3 separate regions of the Homo sapiens genome follow, and all the other regions are linked to region 3. Evidence: promoter capture Hi-C in human tissues and cell types (Jung and others, 2019). All regions are on one chromosome and are shown on one strand. The core of a region is centred on a gene start or on the middle of the fragment in contact, and the rest is flanking DNA. Distances in the headings are between cores, read along the strand shown. Region 1 overlaps LINC02608 (long intergenic non-protein coding RNA 2608). Region 2 overlaps PPP2R5A (protein phosphatase 2 regulatory subunit B'alpha). Region 3 holds the start of NENF (neudesin neurotrophic factor).

Region 1 (2,700 bases), core at 188-2,687, 150 kb after region 3:
TGAGTTCAGGAGTTCGAGAGCAGCCTGGCCAACATGGTGAAACCCCGTCTCTACTAAAAAAAAATACAAAAAATTAGCCAGGCATTATGGTGGGTCCCTGTAATCCCAGCTACTTGGGAGGCTGAGGCAGGAGAATCGCTTGAACCCGGGAGGCGGAGGTTGCAGTAAGCCAAGATTGCACCATTGCACTCCAGCCTAAGCAACAAGAGTGAAACTCTGTCTCAAAAAAAAAAAAAAAAGGTCAACAGGTATATGAAAATGTACTTGATATCACTATCATCAGGGAAATGCAAATTAAAACCACTAGGAGATATCAGTTCACATCCATAAGGATAGCTATTACCAAAAAGACAATAGGCAACAAATGTTGGCGAGGGTGTAGAGAAAAGGGAACCCTAGTACACAATTGGTGGGAATGTAGATTGGTACAATTATTATGAAAAACAGCATGGAGTTCCTGAAGAAATTCAAAATAGAACTACCTCATGACCCAGCAATCCTTCTAGTGGATGTATATCCAAAGAATATGAAATACCACTGGTAAAGATATGTGCATTCCCAATGTTAAGTGCAGCATTATGCACAATAGGGAATACATGGAAACAACCTAAATGTCCATCAATAGACGAAAATATAAAGAAAATGGTATGTACGTGTGTGTGTATAATGGGATATTATTTATATATATAATATATATATACACATGCATTATATGCATTATACAGACACATTTTATATATATAATATATATATAATGGAATGTTATTCAGCCCTCTAAGAGGAGATCCTGCTATTTGCCACAACATGGATGGACCTAGAGGACATTATGCTAAATGAAATAAGCCAGATACAGAAAAATATTGCATGATCTCATTTATGTGTAGATTTTAAAAAAAAAAAAAAGGAGTTCAAATACACAGAGAATGAAACAGTGGGATGCAGTGAGGAAGAGGAAACAGGGAGGTGTAGGTCAAAGGATACAAAACAGCATGTATGTAAGATGAATAAGTTTAGAGATCTAATGTAGGAGGAAAGTTAATAAAAATTGTATTATATTAGGCGTTTTTTGTTAAATAAGTAGATCATAGCTGCTCTTGTCACAAAAAGGTAACTAAGTAAGAGGGTAGATCTATTAATCTGCTTTACTAGAGTAACCATTTTACTATCTACTTTTCTAGATCTTTTTAAAGAATTCTAATTCCATATTGTCTATCTGGCCATTTTGCAAGCACAAGAACATACTGATATGATTAGACATCATGATTTTCAATTGCTGCCATTTTTGCTTTTTAACTTTAAACTTCTTTTAGTTAAGCTTATTATGATTCACCTCATTTGTTGTGGGCTATTGTACAGGCTATTGTGTTGGTCAACCAGGAGCTTAGACTAGGCCAGTGGCAGTAGAGATGGCTAGACTGGAGATTTATTTTGGACGAGGAGTATATAGGATTTGCAGATAGACTGAATGTGGGCTGTTGATACAGCAGAGGTATTATTAATCCCCGAAAACCTGCTCCTGTATTTATACTTTCTGATTATCACTGAATCATCTTTCCATAACTATGAAATCTTTTGCCCCATCTAAATGGGCTGTAATCATAAATGTTCAATAGCCCCTTGTCTACCCATTTCTTTACCTGTATAGATGAGGAACCAGGACATAGTTTGAAGGGGCTCAACTCATGCCAATATACCCTTGCCCTTGCAGAGTGGGACGAAAGAACCTGATGTTAGCAAACTCTCCACACTTTAATTCAACCCTGCAAACACTTTCCAAGTGCCTTCTGTTTGTCAGGCAATATGCCAGTCACTAGGAATGAAGAGGTAGATAAGGATGGGCCTTAAAATCAATCTAGTGAGGAGGGACAACATAAACAAATGAACAAACAATTATCAGAAATATTTTTTATGGTGTGGCAAAACAGTGAAATATAGGATCTAATTTGGTTTGGAAAGAAAGAGAAAATTTAACAGAAAAAGTAATGTTTGAAACCAGTCTTGAAACAAAACAAAGGCCAGGCATAGTGGCTCTTACCTGTAATCCCAGCACTTTGGGAGGCCAAGGCATGCAGATCACCTGAGGTCAGGAGTTCGAGACCAGCCTGACCAACATGGTAAAACCCGTCTCTGCTAAAAATATAAAAATTATCCGGGCGTGGTGGCATGTGCCTGTAATCCCAGCTACTTGGGAGGCTGAGACAGGAGAATCGCTTGAACCCGGGAGGCGGAGGTTGCAGTGAGCCGAGATCACGCCATTGCACTTCAGCCTGGGCAACAAGAGCAAAACTCCATCTCAAAAAAAAAAAAAAGAAAAGAAAAGAAACAAAACAAAATTATCATATGGAGAAGACCAAAAAAAGAAGAAAAATGCCTGCCATTCAGAAATTAGCTTACCACATTTCTCCATCACTATGAAGATTTCTGTATCTCAATGAATTTACTTATTCCACACAACTATTACCAAAAAGTAAAATTTCATTGCAAGAGGAGAATATATTATGCCACACCTTGTATCAGAATTTGACCTGGAAGTGGATGAGCAAAGAAAAAGTAGAGATTAACTTCAACACATAACTGTCCTCTGGGTATATCATAAAAAGCAATGATTGCAAAAGTACTATATGGTTCCTTCATGTTCCTCTACTATGCATATTTTATGTAAATATATAAGTGGTCTTCTGCTTTCATCCATCTGAAGAC
Region 2 (2,700 bases), core at 154-2,653, 140 kb after region 3:
ACCTATAAAATGCTAACCAGTTTAGTGTTGCAGGTAAACATTACTCAGTTATAAATCACCCTAAAATTGTAAATTATTGTATGATATAAATGATGTTTTTCTTTCAATCAATTTAATAGCTTTTGCTTCATTCTTTCATTCAATAAATATAAAACAGCATTGACTATCTAAATCCTGTGTAGGAAAATATGGTCTTGGGTCTCAAAGCACTTATAGTCTAAAGACAAAAAGCAGGCACTTTAACCTTATTCAGGCAACTTGTCCCGGCATATTTTGTGCTCTCCTTCATGCACATAACAATGACATCTTATCATGCAGTGTACACAGAAGATGTTCTATAGAGTAGGGAATAGATAATCCCAATTTGGCCAGGAGACTAAGTGGCCAGCAACCCAAACTATCAATGTCTTCTTATAAGCAAATCTGAAAGTCTTGGCAGGCCAGTAAAGGTTAATGTAAAGAATACAGTTAATGTTTAGAAGACATTAGTAAAGAATATAGTTAATGTATAGAAATTAACAAATGGGCACTCTTTGATTCACATATGCAGTGATCTATTTGATATTTATAACTGGGTTTCTAAATGGCATCTCAAATTTAAAATTTCCAAAATACAACTCTGGATTTTCCCTCTATACCTGATTCCCCCTCCAGTGTACTCCTTTCTCGGTGGTGGGACACATTCCTATCCACCCAGGTGTCCAAGCTAAAGCACGTGAGAGTCATCCTTGACTCCTACACCTCTGCCTTTCCATCTCCTCCCAAACAATTCATTAACAAGGTCCTATCTAAGATATATCTCAAATGCATCTTCTTCTCTCCATCTTGGGCTACTACCCAGGCCCAAGTCACATAAAGTCTTACCTGGCTTATTAATCTCCTAACTTGTCCTCCTAAAAATCTTCTTCTGCTACAATGCATTCTCTACCCAGTAGCTATAGTAATTTTTAACTGCCAAACTTTCTGAAAGAGTTGTCCATACTTACTCACTCAGCTTTTACAATTTCTACTCATTATCCACCTTACACAAATCTCATTTCACATTATCAGTCCTCCAAACGCCTCTCAAGTCACCAATGTTGCCTAAAGACTAACCCACGGAAACTTTTCAGTTCTTACTTGACTTGTCCACAGTTATCCACTGTTACTACTTTCCCCACCCATCCCCCAGTTTTTAAAGACTCTCTTCCCCTGACAGCCTTGTCTCCACTCTCTCCTGTCTTCTTTGGCCTCCACTCCAGCTGTCTCTCTTGGCTCTTGGTTGTACCTTTTTCCCTTACCCATTATCTCAATGTTGGTATTCCTTGGAGTCTTCTCATTCTATCCATTTTCAGTGGGCAGTTGCTTCTACTTCCATTGCTCCAAATGCCACATGTAAGCCAAAGACTCTCAAATTATCTCTAGCACATTGCTCCATATCCAAATAATCCGCCTTCCTACTAGGCAGCTTCACTTCAATTTCCCATGGACACTTCGACCTGTCCAACAAAGAACCATTATCTTCTCCTCCCAAATCTAATGTCTTTTTTCCCTTTCAATAAACTGCTATCATACATCCAGTTGCCCAAGTTAGAAATGTATCATCGTTGATTGTTCCCTCTCACCAGATTTTGCCTATGATACCACCCCATCCCCACTTGGACAAGCACCTTTATCTCTTGTCTGGATTACTGTGTCAGTATCCTCACTAGTGTTACTCACTCTGATTTCCCAATACGTTCTTCATGTTACTGGCAGGTATGAATGCAATAAATTGCCTACATCCATTCTTCAACATAGCAACAAGATTACGCACTAGACCCTAAATGCTGTTCCACTTCTCTAGTGATACAGAATATACCACAGAGATATAGAATGTAACCTATATTCTAGATCACAGCTATGTAAACTGCTGGTAATTCCCAAAATATGCTATGCTCAATTACCTTTGGGTCTCCATATATTGTCTTTTGGGTGGACCTCTTAGCCCATCTATCTTGGCCTAACACCTTCTGGCCTTTTAGATGGCAGTTTACCTGTCACTTTCTCCAGGAAACTTTCCCTGATCACTCCCCTCCCCTACTAAAACGGGATTGAGTCCTTCACATACTCCCTTAACATTTTAGAGCTTATTCTTATCATGACACTGAACACATTAATTGCAACTGCCTGCTTACAAGTCTGTATTCACCAACTATAAACTCCTAAAGACATTAAATTTAAAAGAAAAAGCATTCATTGTTTTCACTTTACTAAGTTTTAATCTCTGCAGCGGTTCACCAAAATTTTATGCACTATGGAAAACCAAAGAAAGGAAAAGATTTCTGTACTAGATTTTTGAAAATAAAGTGTGTGTCTAATTTCACAGCAAACAAAATATTTTGCCACTGACCAATTTAAAGAAGAATGGTAGGGCACGTTTTTGTTGTTGTTTTTGTTTGTTTTAATAAAATTAGAAACATTCCTACAGAAGTTATGTCTTATTTTACTTTTAACTTCAATAGATATTTTTCTTCAGAAAAGCCTGTCTGAAAAGTTGTTTTAAAAATCTACCCAGTTTTGCTAATTAAAATTCAGGAGTTATAACAAAAACTGTCTCACCTTTTTCCCTTTTTCACTTTTATCAATTTAGAGGCAGGGGATTAACAATGAGTTCAAATAACCATTGACTTATGGTAATAGCTGTAATTATGGAATATCCTTGATACAATGTGAAACAAA
Region 3 (2,700 bases), core at 24-2,523:
CATGTCTCCCTCCCTCGGTGTCCTCACTGACTCATGGTTCTAAATGGCCCCTTCACAAATGATGCCCAAACTGGCATCACTGACTAAGGGCCAGGTTTCTGATACCCCCATGCAATCCTAGTCCATATAAGGCCAATTAACTCAGGAATTAGCGAGACCAGGCCAGAGGGTTTTGAAAAACATCAGGCCTCTTCCTGCTCTACCACTAACAGGTGGCAGGCCTCAGTTTCCTTATGTGTAAAAGCAGGAGATGGGTTCCTGCCAGCTCTGAAATACTATGGTACTATGACCTCCCCCCAATGCCGTTCCCCCGCTCCACATCTAATATCAGCCCCCTGTTGGTCCTTGTCGTGCGGCTCCAGTCCCAACCAACCCAGGTGGGCAGGTGGTTGTGAGTTTTCTGGACGCCTCTAGACTATTGACGTGTGTGGGTGTGTGTGGGCGGGGGGGTCTCTATTGACGTGTGGCGGGGGGGTTGTGGGGGTCTCTAACCTCCAGTCCACCCTCTGCGCTCACTTCCAGCTTTGGCTGAGCCCCAGGGGTACATGACCTAAAAGTGGGTTTGAGGAGTCCGATGCAGAGGCCTGGGATACAGGGGCAGGAAAAGGAAGTGCAGGCAAAGACTGGCTTATCCCAGGACCTGTCTCAATTCCCACCTAACCCAGGGAGCAGGCTCTGCTTCCCTCCCTCCGTCCCCCGCCACTCCCCACTATGCGTGGGCACAGTAAACGCCTCGGCTGATGCTAACATGAAAACCAAAAAGTTCTGAGGTCTGTACGCAGATCATCAACGAAAAGGCGGCTAGAGGGGAAATCTCCCGGGGACCGAGGGAGAAGTTCAGGGTGGGGTGTGCGGGCAAAGCGGAGCGCTCCGACTGTTGAGGACTCGTCCTCACCCCTCGGCCATCCTTCGGGGCCTAGAGAGAGGAGGCCCCCCGCCGGCCCAGGGCGCCCGCCGCGGGCCGCGCGTCCCCCAGAGCTTCCTGGGCCGCCGGCGCCTCCTGGGTCCCCGCTCGGCTCGCCGCAGATCGGACGCCACCCCGGGTCCCTCGGCCCGCGACACCCCCGCCTACCTCCTCCCCGCCATAGCGGGCCAGCTCCTCCTCGGTGAAAAGCCGCACTGGGGGCCCCCGCTCGGCAGGGCGCGGTGTCTGCCCGGCCCGGGCTGTGGGCAGCCCCGGGGCCAGCGCCAGGACCAGGGCCAGCGCTGCCAGCGGCCGCAGCCGCCGCCGCGGCGCGGGGCCCACCATGGTGAGCGCGCAGCGCAAGGCAAGGCCGGGCCAGGGCGGCGGGGCCCTAGCACGCCCGCCCAGCGTCCCGGAGTCCCGCCCCGCGCCCAGAGCCTCCCCGAGGGCGGGGACCCGAGAACTCCCGCCCTTCGCGCGCCTCCTGCGCCCCGGGGTGGGGCTGGCCGGGCTACTCGGGCCACGCAGCTGGAACCTGGAAATTAGGATTGGAATCCTGAACTCCTAAATCCAAACTACAGACTGGAAGTTACCAAAAAATGTCACAGTGGTTCCTTGATCAGGTAGAAAGATGACAGAGCCCAACATACCAGAACCTAGAAAGGTATATTTCTAAAATAAGACCCCAACTGTCTTAATTCGCTTTTATTTTTGGCTGATTTTTTTTCTTCCTGGTTGTGTTTAAGTTTCTGGTTCCCAAGGAGATTTTTGCAAAGGGTAGGGTGCTGTTACCGATACGCCCTGAAATAATAATAGCTAACATTTGTGCCAAACTTTGCTCATTACTTTATGCAACAAATATTTTTGAGTACCTCCATGTACCAGGTCACTGGGGACTCACCACTGAACAAGACAGATCCACGCCCACGTGAAGCTTACATTGTGTGGGCAGATAGACAATAAGATGCTAAGTAGTATGTTAGATGGTGGTAAATACTAGGGAGAAAAAGTAGGGCAAAGAGATAGGGAGCACTGGGATGGACATTTTATTTTATTTTATTGTTATGTATTTATTTATTTTTGAGACGGAGTCTGTCGCCTACGCTGGAGTGCAGTGGCGCCATCTCGGCCCACTGCAACCTCCACCTTCCGGGTTCAAGTGATTCTCCTGCCTCAGCCACCAGAGTAGTTGGGATTACAGGCACCCACCACCACGCCTGGCTAATTTTTTTTTTTTTTAATTTTTAGTCGAGATGAGGTTTCACTATATGCTGGCCAGGCTGGTCTCGAACTCCTGGCCTCAAGTGAACCATCCACCTCATCCACCCAAAGTGCTGGGATTACAGGTGTGAGGAACGGTGCCCGGTTATGGGGATGGTCATTTTAAATAGGCAGGTTAGGGAAGGCCTCACTGAGAACAGGGTATTTGCATAAAAATCTACAGGAGGCGAAGGAGGCGGTCTAGAGGGAAGAGCACTTTGGTCAAAGGATCAGGTGCATAAATGCGGAGGAATGAGGATGCCCGGCTTGCTGGAGGATCAAGGGAAGGTAAGAGGGGTAGGTGAAGTCAGGAAGGAAGCGGGTAAGGGAGTGGGGGTGGATCTTGGGGGCTTCACAGGTTATTTTCAAGACTGGCTTTTACTTTCAAGACTGGAATAGAGGAATTAACAGAAAAAGGGTCTCATTCCAGACCCAAGAGCAGGTTCTTAGACGTCCACGGCAAAGAATCAGGGCAAGTCGCAGAGCATAGTAGTTAAAATAGTTCATTAGAAACTACTCCATTTCTAATAATAGTA

The links. The method cuts DNA at HindIII sites, captures the fragments that hold promoters and counts their contacts. A contact is called where the count stands out against the background at its distance.
Region 1: a contact is called between a fragment that was not itself captured here and the fragment with the promoter of NENF in region 3, in 5 of the 25 tissues and cell types used here (IMR-90 fibroblasts, adrenal gland, aorta and 2 more).
Region 2: a fragment that was not itself captured here is called in contact with the fragment with the promoter of NENF in region 3 in 3 of the 25 tissues and cell types used here (IMR-90 fibroblasts, hippocampus and lymphoblastoid cells).

What each region holds. Positions count from the first base shown.
Region 1 is chr1:212,276,935-212,279,634 of GRCh38, reverse strand. The region is part of intron 1 of LINC02608 (long intergenic non-protein coding RNA 2608); the gene reads left to right. Among named protein-coding and RNA genes, the nearest start is that of LINC02608, 6.7 kb to the left of the region's middle. The HindIII fragment of the contact is 7,141 bases long and covers 1-2,700 here.
Region 2 is chr1:212,294,177-212,296,876 of GRCh38, reverse strand. The region is part of intron 1 of PPP2R5A (protein phosphatase 2 regulatory subunit B'alpha); the gene reads right to left. Among named protein-coding and RNA genes, the nearest start is that of PPP2R5A, 10 kb to the right of the region's middle. The HindIII fragment of the contact is 9,503 bases long and covers 1-2,700 here.
Region 3 is chr1:212,431,493-212,434,192 of GRCh38, reverse strand. It overlaps NENF (neudesin neurotrophic factor), which reads right to left and starts at 1,273. Exons shown (of 4, transcript NM_013349.5): 1 at 1,073-1,273. The coding sequence starts at 1,249. It overlaps LOC105372906 (a long non-coding RNA gene), which reads left to right and starts at 1,376. Exons shown (of 3, transcript XR_922577.4): 1 at 1,376-1,568; 2 at 2,349-2,452. RefSeq lists an enhancer at 678-767 and a silencer at 928-1,487. The HindIII fragment of the contact is 24,294 bases long and covers 1-2,594 here.